Linked DNA regions of Homo sapiens: region 2 is linked to region 1. The links are contacts of gene promoters, found by promoter capture Hi-C in human tissues and cell types (Jung and others, 2019). All regions are on one chromosome and are shown on one strand. Each heading gives the region's core, a stretch centred on a gene start or on the middle of the fragment in contact. The rest is flanking DNA. Distances are from core to core; before and after follow the strand shown. Region 1 holds the start of CHST2 (carbohydrate sulfotransferase 2). Region 2 overlaps SLC9A9 (solute carrier family 9 member A9).

Region 1 (5,710 bases), core at 3,211-5,710:
CTTTGCAAGGGTCACCTCCCCTTTGCAAACCTTACTTTCCCAATTTAAAAATAGCTGTTTCCAGTCACTCTCCATCACATTAATATTTTATTTCTTCTATAGTACTTACCATTCTCAAAAATAATCTTATTTGTTTAAATGTGTGTGCACTGAGTATCTCCCACTCTAGAGTGTAAACTTCATGAAGGTAGGGTCTAGGCCTGTCTGCTTCACTTTTGCATCTCACATAGCTAGACCAGCACCTGGTACATTATAGGTGCTTACTAAATATTTATTGTCATCCTTATATTTCTGGGATAAACCCAAATTGGTTCTAGTTTATTGTCCTTTTTTCCCCACTTGAGTGGATTTGTTTTGCTTATATTTTATTTAAGAGTTTTATGTATAAATTAATCAGAGACAGTACCAAATTTCTTCTCTGAAATCCCTCTGTAGTTATTATCCCCTTTGAATGAGTTGGGGGAAATATTCCCTCTTGTTCTCTTCTCTGATAGAGATAAGACTGAAACAATCTAGTTCTTGAAAGTTTGGTGGAACCCTCCTTTAAATCCCTCTGGTAATAGTGTTGTTTCAATTTGTAAGTACTGTTTTTCTTCTTTTTCTTTCTTTTCCTTCCTTTTCTTTTTTTTTGAGACAGAGTCTCATTCTGTTGCCCAGGCTGGAGTGCAGTGGCGCGATCTTGGCTCACTGCAACCTCTGCCTCCCGGGTTCAAGCAATTCTCCTGCCTCAGCCTCCCGAGTAGCTGGGACTACAGGTGCGCACCACCAAACCAGGCTAATTTTTGTATTTTTAGCAGAGACGGGGTTTCAGCCTGGTCTCAAACTCCTGACCTCGGGTGATCTGCCCAACTCGGCCTCCCAAAGTGCTGGGATTACAGGTGTGAGCCACCGTGCCCAACCTCTTTTTCTTTTTTTTTTTTTTGAGACTGGGTCTCACTCTGTTGCCCAGGTTGGAGTGCAGTGGCACCATTATGGCTCACTGCAGCCTTGACCTCCTGGGGTCAGGTAATTCTCCCATCTCAGTCTCCCGAGTTGCTGGGACTACAGGCATGCACTGCCACACTTGGCTAATTTTTTTGTAGTTTTTGTAGAGATGGGGTTTTGCCATGTTGCCCAGGTTGGTCTCAAGCTCCTAGGCTCAAGTGATATGCCCACCTCAGCCTCCCAAAGTGTTGGGATTACAGGCATGAGCCACCGTGCCCGGCCATAAGTAGTCTTGTATCTTTTTGAGATTGTTAAAGCAAGTTGTTTTTCCTTCCTGTTAGAACTTTATCATTTCATCTCAGTTTCTAAACTAAGTAGAGCGGTTACTCTTGGAGGTTTTTGGGCTGTGTAATGGGTTCATGCATATTCATTATATTAAAACATAGGACATTTAAAAGGGCCACTTGGACTAACAATGGCAGCATATCTTAAATCAAGGATTATGAGTAACCTGAATCTATAATCTCAAGTTCTATTGAAAATGCATATTTGTTCAAAATATGAGGGAGTGAATCTATCTTGGTGCCCAGGGGCAAACATTTTCCAAAGGTGAATCTTCTAGGATTCACACAGATAGGCCCAAATGGGAACTGTTCAGGTAACCCAGCCTTGCATCTTTCCCCAGTTCAGACTCTGGAAGAAAGTCCTTGAAGATCTCTGGACATTTGTCCAGGATTAAGCAAAAGCCACAGCAAGTTTCTTTCACTCGCATCAGTGTGAAGAGACCACCAAACAGGCTTTGTGTGAGCAATAAAGCTTTTTAATCACCTGGGTGCAGGCGGGCTGAGTCCGAAAAGAGAGTCAGTGAAGGGAGATAGGCGTGGGGCCGTTTTATAGGATTTGGGCAGGTAAAGGAAAATTACAGTCAAAGGGGGTTGTTCTCTGGTGGGCAGGTGTGGAGGGGGGGATCACAAGGTGCTCAGTGGGGGAGCTTTTTGAGCCAGGATGAGCCAGGAGAAGGAATTTCACAAGGTAATGTCATCAGTTAAGGCAGGACCTGCCATTTTCACTTCTTTTGTAGTGGAATGTCATCAGTTAAGGCAAGGACCAGCCATCTGGATGTGTACATGCAGGTCACAGGGGATATGATGGCTTAGCTTTGGCTCAGAGGCCTGACAGTTTCCAATAGAACATAACAGGCAGCAGAGAAGACAGAGACTGAAAGAGCATCCTGGGGGAGATGGAATTGTGACAAACTAAACCAGTGAGCCGAAATTAAGGCTAGCCCTGTGGCATGACTGGCTCTTGTGCAAGTGACATTATTATGTGACATATTATATGTCTGGGTCATTACTATGCTAAAATAAGTAGATTAAAATGAAAGGAATTTCCAAACAAATGCGGGAAGGAAGGCATTATGAAGTTTTCAGATGTCATTAGCTATAACAAAGTTCAGAATTAATCATGACACCATGCAAAATGGGAAAAATTTGCAAGCAAGGAGAGGGTGGAGATGCCAGAACCCGTAAATTTATGCCAGCTGAGCACTGTGGGGGCACCTGGCAAATGGATTTACTATTTTGCCAACACCAGTAAAGTGTTACAAAATTGCAAACGGAATTATTTCTATGCAAACAATTGTTTTTAAAAAGGGTCCCTACATCGACTAATGCAATTCAGTTTTTTTCTGGGTAAGCACAAAGCCAGAAACTAAATGAAAAATATTAGAAATTATTTTTCTTGGAATCATGTTGAATATTAAAATTGAGATTTACTTTCCTCCCCAATTCCCTCTCTCTCCCATCAGTCTTTTCATGCACCAATGTCATTTTAGTTTTCGTGGTAAAAGAGGTGGTGAAAAAGGGGCAGGGGCATTTGAGAGAGTAGGCGAAGGGAGGCTGGGGATTCCAGAAAAGGAAAAGATGGGGAGTCGCTCAATTAAACTCTACCACCTTCATCTGTTAACAGGGATTCTTGCCTGTCTCGACCCACTTCCAGAGGCAATGCCATATTATTTGAGAAAGCTGGATATAAAATTTGAGCTCTGCTGTCCTTGTCCCAATCCCCCTCCCCAGGAGAAAAAATAAGCTGAACTGTACTCGTGACATTATGGGTTTTTCTGGAAAACAAGGATAAATAAGTTTTTTGAACATTTTTCTCCCCTGAAACTAAATCCGTAAGAGAGTTAAAAACCCGTGGAAAGCGAGTTAAGTCACTTTTCAAGTCTTTGTACTCAGGGGATTCTGTAAGACTCATGGAAGAATAATGGCGCAAACAGCAATATTTTAATGTTAGAACGGTCCTCTGAAAAGTCTGCCCGAAACGCTACAAAGATAATTGTGCAGTAACTTCTAAAAACTCTACTGGGACAGGAGGCAACAAAACTCCGGATCAGCGAGAGCTCTGTTTATCCGAGGGTGCTGAGCCTCAGGCCCCACGGAGATTCCCTTTTCGGCACTTGGAGGCCTGAACTCAGGTCTAACCTTTCGTGTGCGCGCTCTGATACTCAACCACCGTTCAGTCTCCGGAGGCTGTTACAACTGTCCCCATTCTACAGATGAAGTTGAGGCTACAGCTTAGTGTTCTTGGGGAGGGAGGGAGTTGGGGGGAGAGAGAGACGCTTTTCCTCATAACCTTAAACAAAAGTACTTAAACCTAAAGCAACTGAAAAATGATTTTCTTTCAACAACGGTGTTTCCTTTGGGGTCAAGTTCTTTGATCTCATCTACAAAACCAAGAAGCGGGACAAGTATTTTTCTGCAAATTAGAACGGGGCGTTCCCCTCCCCCATCACCCCAATTCCAGAGGACGTCAATCACAGTGGACGCAGCACCGCGAGCGGAAATGCGGAGAGCATCGGGGCTCCGCATGTGGGGCACAATGAAACAAGAGCAGCCCCGGCCAGAGGTCCAGTAAAGCGGAAAGACGGTCCCGCCCGCACACCCCTCCGGAAAACTGAAGCGTCTCCTCTGACCCCCAAGGTCAGAAAGATTTATTACTTCCTTCGAGAGGGCGCAGCCACAGACCCACTAGAGAGGGCGGGCAGGGTGTCGGAAGCCAGAGAACGGCGCTCCGCGTCCTCCCACCGCTCCAGGGCGCAGAGGTGTCCTCAGTGCCCGGAGAGGTTGGCAGTGTCGGCCCCGAGGGAAGCGTGGAGCGGACGGCCGACAGGGGATTTCTGCCCAAACTTCATCACCAACTCTTTCTGAGAGCAAAAACATGGGGCCGAGTCCGGCAGCTGCACGCAGAATCCAACTCTCTGGCAGCTCTCGGCACCGACGAGCTCCAGATCCCGCGTTCGCATCCCGGCGCTTTGCGCGCAGAGCTAAGCCTTCGGACCCGTGGACTGCAGCCCCCGCGCGTCGCGGTAAAGCGGGTCGCGTCTCCAGCCCCCGAGGCGCAGCGACGGTGGGAGCCGGCTCGGCGTTGGGGGCGGGGGCGGGGCCGGCGAAGGGGGAGGGCTGCGCGGCGGAGGGGAGGAGCCGCGGCGACAGACGGCGGCGCGCACCAACCGGGCGCCGGCTGGCAGGAGCCGCGCAGAGGCTGGTCCGAGCGCGTTGCGGGCGCCCGGCGTAAGGGGAGTCGGGTAGCAGCATCCTCCTGGGCGCCGCTTTCGCGCGGCGGCGGCGGCTGCGGCGGGGTCTTTCTTTGCTTAAATACCTCGTTGGCCAGAAGCGCTGGTACCGGGGGCGGGTTGGGTCGGGTCGGGCAGTGCTGCACACCTGGGTTTCCTTGCCTAGAGCTGTGTGTTCGGGGTCCTTTGGTCCAGTCGGAGGCTGCGGAGCGGCGGGGGTTGCCTGCGCTGTCCGCCCGGGCATCCTCCCGGTGATGGAAGCAGCCGCCGCCGCCGCTGCGGGGTCGCGCTGTGCCCCATCCACCGCTGCCAGAGAGGTGGGAAAATTCGCCGCACGGAGGCCGAAAGCGAGAGGGGCTGCGCCGCTATGCCGGGAGCTGAGTCCCATATAAGCCGCCCCCAGCCATCGCCCCCAGCCGGCTTCGTTCCCCTGAGCGAGACAGGAAGCTGCGGTCCCGAGAAAGCGGAGGAGACGTCGCTGGAGCCGGGAGGCGCCGGGTTCGGCGGAGCGCGGAGCGGGGCTCTGGGCCGCGTGAAAGTTTTTCTTCCCGAGCCGCAGGGCGCCCGCTGCCCGGAAACTGCCCAGGGATAAGTCGGCCGACTCCCCAGACCCCTCGAAGGTGCGGGGACCCCCAGCGGAAGCGAGAGGGAGCGAAATCGAGGAACGAGTGACAGCCGGACAGTCCGCCGGGCGGTGATCCGGGGCCGCTCCCGGGCGCGCCCTCGGCTCCAGGTGAGCGGAGGAACCGGGCAGAACCGAGGGTGGGCGTTACTTAGGAGGAGGAGGCTGGGAGGGAGATTGGGGCGCATCCGCTCACTCCGCTTCCCCTCGCAGGTCCTACCCGGAGCCGCTGCCATGGGAGAGCCAGCCTTGGGCGCTGGGGACCAGCCGCCGCGCCCGCCTCGGAGTCGCGGCCCGAGTCCCGGCGCCAGCAGCCAGCCCGCTGCGTCCCCTTCCCGGGCTGCAGGGCTGCCTCCGCCGCGCCGCCGGCCCGGATTGTGCCTGTGATGAGCCGCAGCCCGCAGCGAGCTCTGCCCCCGGGCGCGCTCCCTCGGCTGCTCCAGGCTGCGCCTGCAGCCGCGCCGCGTGCCCTGCTCCCGCAGTGGCCCCGGCGCCCAGGACGCCGCTGGCCCGCGTCCCCTCTCGGAATGAAGGTGTTCCGTAGGAAGGCGCTGGTGTTGTGCGCGGGCTATGCACTGCTGCTGGTGCTC
Region 2 (5,710 bases), core at 1,397-3,896, 630 kb after region 1:
ATGGATCTGGGGACAACAGTGTCAGCTGGGGGACAAGTGTGGAGGCTATTACAGAGGTTCAGGCAAAAGATAATGGCAGCTTAAACTAGAGTTGGGGAAGTTGGGGAGGAAAGGCCGGCAGTTCATTTATTCAAATACTTATTTAGTGTCCCCTGAGTGTCAGATACTTTCCTAGGTTCTCTTTTTTTCTCCATTTGAAAGTTTATCCTGAACATTTCAATCATAACCCTCACACAGCACTTAATACACTGTATTTTCGTTTACTTAATTGTTTGTTTCTATGTCTCTCTCACCTGTTAAATTATGAGCTCTCTGAGAACATGTATAGGATATAATTTATCTATTTCCAAAACCTAGCTCAGTGCCTGGAATCTAGAGGTCTCTCAATCAATGTGTTTTAGAGTTTAGTTGAAAAGATGAATTGAATTCAAGACTTCTATCTCACATCCTCAGGAAAAAAGCCTGTCATCAGGCCCTGCCAATTTGAATACATTTACCTTTTTTTTTAAAGTGCTCAAATAATTTCTTTTCAGGGTGGTGTGGTTTGCTGCCTGCCTATCAAAGATAAAAACAGCATTGATTAATATAAACAAAATTAGAAAAATATTTGGCTAAAATGTCTTGCTTTCTCAGTCATTTGCTATCAGCTTTCCTCCTTAAACATAGAAAAAGGTGACAAAATAAAAACTTTTTTCTCATCACTGATGGTATTCTTTATGATGTCCAAGATGAAGATATTTCTCTCTTCATATTAAACCAGGTAATGAGTTTAATTGTTTTTTCCTTCAAACGCGACATATTTTTAAGCCTTTTTTCCCCCTCAAATGCCGTAATTTAAATCATCAGACAATGACAATGCTGTGGTACGCTGAACAATGGGCCCACAAAGATATGAGGTCCTAATCCCTGGAACCCATAAATGTTACCTTATATAAAATGAGGGACTGTGCAGGCCAGGCAGGGTGGCTCACGCCTGCAATCCCAGCACTTTGGGAGGCTGAGGTGGGCGGATCATGAGGTCAGGAGTTTGAGACCAGCCTGGCCAACATGGTGAAACCCCGTCTCTACTAAAAATACAAAAACCACCTGGGTGTGGTGGCAGGTGCCTGTAATCCCAGCTACTTGGGAGGCTGAGGCAGGAGAATTGCTTGCTACTGGAAGGTGGGGGTTGCAGTGAGCTGAGGTTGCACCTCTGCCCCCCAGCCTGGGCAACAAGAGTGAAACTCCATCTCAAAAAAAAAAAAAAAAAAAAAGAGGGACTTTGCAGATGTGATTAGGTGAAAAATCTTGAGATAAGGAGATGACCCTGAATTATTCAGGTGGACCCTAAATGCAATCACTTCTATCCTTATGATGTACAGGCAGAGAGAGACTTGAATACACCCACAGAGTGGGGGATATGAAGGTGAAGCAAAGAGGGATTTAAGGATGTTGGCTTTGAAGACTAGAGTAATGCAGTCATAACATGAGGAATGCCAGCGGCTGCCAGAAGCTGGAAGAAGAAAACAAGAACAAGTTTTCTCCAACAGCCTCTGGGAAAAAAGAAGCCCTGCTGATACCTTGGTTTGGTGATACTGACTTTGGCCTCCAGAACTGGAAAATCATATATTTCGATTGTTTTAAACTTCCACATTTGTAGTAATTTGTTACAGCAGCTATAAGAAATGAATACAATCATGCTGTATACATTATAGACCTCCTTAGGAACTTTGTCCAGTGGTCCTTTCCCCTCAGGGTAGGGAGCGCTCCCATCTAGGCCACACTCCAGGCACCTGAGACACTGAAATCTGCCCTGATGGTCCCAAGACTGCCCCTGTGTCTCCACGAACCCCTTTCCTAAGTCTGCGATTGAGCCAGAGTGGATTAGCAGCTAGAGATCAGGGCATCTCAATCCCACTGCCTCTAAGTTAGTTGACACTGAACTTAGTTTCAAGAATTCCAAATTGAACTAGCCTTCTTGATCATTATGAACACATATTTGTCAAGACAGATGTATAGAACATGTTTCTTTAGCTGTCTGGTGACTTGCCGTAGAACTTTAGATATTCAGGCCCATGATATGCGGGCTCTGTTTGTGCTCTTATCCGGGACCCCACAAATATAAGAGCCTTGTGGCTAGGTCTGGGCTCAGCCAAGCCAGCAAAACTGATGCCATCACCAAAGACATTCAAATTGCAACCCAGTAAATCTGTCAGCCTGCCACAACTGTCCTCATTAAGATGCTTCAAGCCCAATGTCTGGACCTCAACTGGCTGCCCTCTGGATTTGGAAACTGGGTTTCCAACTATTAATATTTGGTTTTCTTTTTCTTTTCATGAAAATTCCCCTCACTAAATGTCTGGCTGCTGCTCTGACCATCCAGCAAATATCCTCTACTACCAAATGGTTCAGCTGACCCTTCATGAACAAAAGGTAACTGAATGAGAAAATGGACTTACAATGTTCAAAGGAAAGAAGAATGTCATCTCTTCTTTCTTTGAACAGAGGACGGACTGGCAAAGAGTCTCTTTTTGACCAAGCTTTTTTTTTTTTTTTTTTTTTTGAGACGGAGTCTCGCTCTGTCGCCCAGGCCGGACTGCGGACTGCAGTGGCGCAATCTCGGCTCACTGCAAGCTCCGCTTCCTGGGTTCACGCCATTCTCCTGCCTCAGCCTCCCGAGTAGCTGGGACTACAGGCGCCCGCCACCGCGCCCGGCTAATTTTTTGTATTTTTAGTAGAGACGGGGTTTCACCTTGTTAGCCAGGATGGTCTCGATCTCCTGACTTCATGATCCACCCGCCTCGGCCTCCCAAAGTGCTGGGATTACAGGCGTGAGCCACCGCGCCCGGCCTGACCAAGCTTTTTAACTGAACTTCAAGTCTTTTTTTTTCTAGACCTTAATTTTGCTTCATGAATAATACTAATAAAGGTGCAAATATAGACTAGTGAAGAAAATTTAAAGCATGTTTGAAACATTATAAACACATGGTTTATATATTTGCATAATATTTTAAATTATTATTTATAAATGCTTCTCACATCTCTTTGCCTTATTTGGAGCATTGCTATTGTGTTGTTAAGAACAAAAATAGCTACAGTATCATTCTTTATCATACATGATCTAGATGTTTTCTTTCTCTACTCCTGTTTTCCTCCCTTTAGAAAAATGTATCCATGGTTAACATTAAGAAGAAAATTAGCTGTAAAATCAAAAACACAACAATAGTCTAAGAGCCACAACCCACTGGAAAAGGCCACAGCATCGAACAGCTAAGCTAAAAATTCCATGTCTGGATACTTGGTTGAAATTCCCTCGCTCCCACTCAGCAAAGCATCCCCAGATGCCAAAGATTACGCATTCCACTTTATAAGGACTAACGCTGAATGCTTTTTAAATACAAAATTAAAAAGCAAGTCATTCATAAACTTCAGTACTCCATCAGTACCACATCGTTTTGTCATATGTTAACGCTAGAGTTGCGGAGAATGGTTACTTGGGATAAAAGATTTCATCTTTAGTTGATTTCCAGGACGAAGTGGTTCAATAGTTGTTCTGCTTCTTACAATTCTCAGAGAGTTTAAATTGCCCTTGAAATTCTCTTAATTGGTCCATGAGGTACAGTTATCCCGGTTTCAAGAGTATATTCCTATATGGAAATCTTTGTACACACTGAAGTTTGAGAACTGCGGGCTAGACTAAAATCAGGAACAAAAGGAAAGTCTATATGCAGATGCTCAGGCACTTAAATCACTGTGCCTTTCGGATATGATTAAACTCTACCAGTGAGTAGGGGGAGAAATCTAAATTACGCAGGCTCTCCTGCAGATACTACTCCATTTTTTGTTATAAGATTAAGCCTCCATGATCCTTATTTGCGAATAGGTTTATCATTGTAAAAATAAAAGCTCCGGGCAGACACAGAGAAAGAGACAGAGAGAAAGAGACTCTAAAGTCAGCTTCCTGGTTAAATGCATAATGCCGTATTGTCTTGATACAGCAGTTAAAAGTGGCCCTAAATTCCCGTGGAAGAGGAAGACAATGCACCAAAAGGGCCTTACAATTCTAACTTCAGTTAAAATCATTTATTTTGAACTTTGTTCTAACTTTCAGTGGAGGCTTTAATGACTCCAGTAAATGACAATGTGCTTGAATTTTCACTGGCATTTTCTATTGTCACAAGCTTTAAGTTTCTTCAGAGCCCCAATTCTCTTGCATTATATTTTTTAATACCTGTAATCAAGGCCTTAGCCCAGGTCCTAAGCAAAGCTAACAAATAATTATCTTTCACAATAGAGCTAAAAACAGGAACCTAATTAATTAAAGCACTAATTGAACTTCCCATTACTGATACATTTGTTCCTGCTCTGACATAAACATTAATCAAATTCACTGAATAATTCAGCTCTCCATTTCCCTCACCTGTGTAGACAAATCTGCCTGCTGTCCTGTAATGGTGAAAGATGAAAATGTTTTATGATGTCATTTGGTAATATCCTTGTTGAGTACTAATAACTGATAATATTGTATAGTCAAATGGGAAGAGGGTACAGAGTAAAAACAAAATGCTGTTAAATATATATCTATATATATATATATACATATATAATTATATATCTTATATATTTATAACAAATATTTGTCTCTTCTTTTAAAAAACAAACCCATGGAGGAAAGAACCTTTTGAAAAAATTTTAAAGAATTTCGCAAGAACATCTGCATTTTAATGAAGTGGGTTATTTAGATTGCAACTGTATGGGGCAGTAGATTTCCTTTAATTATGTGATTAGATAAATATTTATGTATTTTTTCTCTGTTGAAATCCAAGCTTCCTGTTGAGTCTAAATGCTGGCTCTCCCCTCTCCAGCTGGCAGAACCAGTTTTCAGGGCTGCTGGAGAAGATGCACATCAGATGCTGCTTCAAGGAGATAGGAAGTCATTGTTCATGGGCAGTTCTGTTTTGGAAGCCAGGCTAACTGGGACCATAGTTTGATATTGCAGGGCGAGTCAAGAGTGCAGCTCTTGCTGCTGTCTAAACAGGCTCATGCTGTGTGGAGAAAAGGTTGCAGACTCTCTGAAGGCATCACCTTCTCTAAGTATCTCACCTTAAAACCACCAGGAGGAGGTTACCTGCAGATCCACCTAATTGTTGGTGGTGGATGATATGATGCCTAGCCTTCATCTCCCTTTGAAGATGTAGAATTTATTCCCCCCACTGCGGCAAAGAGGGCCCTTAGCTCTGAGCTCCCTATGGGGATTTCCTTGGTTGAAGGAAGCTATCTTTCCTGGAGGGCATGCTGCTTTCCAGAGACATCCGATGCTATAAACATATGAAGACCTGGTCTCCTGTGCCAGTTTAGACAGCTCTGAAGGGCCATCCTGACTCCAGAGTCCCCACTCCTTGGGGTCAGCTGGGGCTTTGGTGAGGGGCTGCATTGTAGTTCAACTTCCTCTGCACCCTCCTACCTCCCACCGCTTCTTTCCACAGGTCTGATCCCAAAAGCACTCCCTAATCTGTGCACAAGAACCTCTGCTTCAGGGTTGGCTTCCAAGGGAGCCTATCTGTGAGAGGGATGACAGGAAGTAAATAGTATGACACTACTCAAGATCGGGCAGACATGGCATCAACAGGCAAATGCTGAAAGGAAGTGAAAGAAAGCAGCTGGGGGTACAGGGAGAAGCAGACCACAGCGAAGACTCAAATGAAATAGGCAATGTTTGCCTTTCTCCTCA

The links. Contacts are between HindIII fragments. The study calls those that stand out against the background at their distance.
Region 2: a fragment that was not itself captured here is called in contact with the fragment with the promoter of CHST2 in region 1 in 1 of the 25 tissues and cell types used here (dorsolateral prefrontal cortex).

The regions. Positions count from the first base shown.
Region 1 is chr3:143,115,311-143,121,020 of GRCh38, forward strand. It overlaps CHST2 (carbohydrate sulfotransferase 2), which reads left to right and starts at 4,461. Exons shown (of 2, transcript NM_004267.5): 1 at 4,461-5,231; 2 at 5,334-5,710. The coding sequence starts at 5,507. RefSeq lists enhancers at 3,517-4,018, 3,694-3,823, 4,019-4,518, 4,804-4,853, 5,177-5,710 and silencers at 4,284-4,573, 5,064-5,113, 5,144-5,193, 5,244-5,323, 5,384-5,583 and 1 more. The HindIII fragment of the contact is 8,898 bases long and covers 1-5,710 here.
Region 2 is chr3:143,746,173-143,751,882 of GRCh38, forward strand. All of the region lies in intron 4 of SLC9A9 (solute carrier family 9 member A9), which reads right to left. Among named protein-coding and RNA genes, the nearest start is that of SLC9A9, 99 kb to the right of the region's middle. RefSeq lists an enhancer at 5,484-5,710. The HindIII fragment of the contact is 3,672 bases long and covers 811-4,482 here.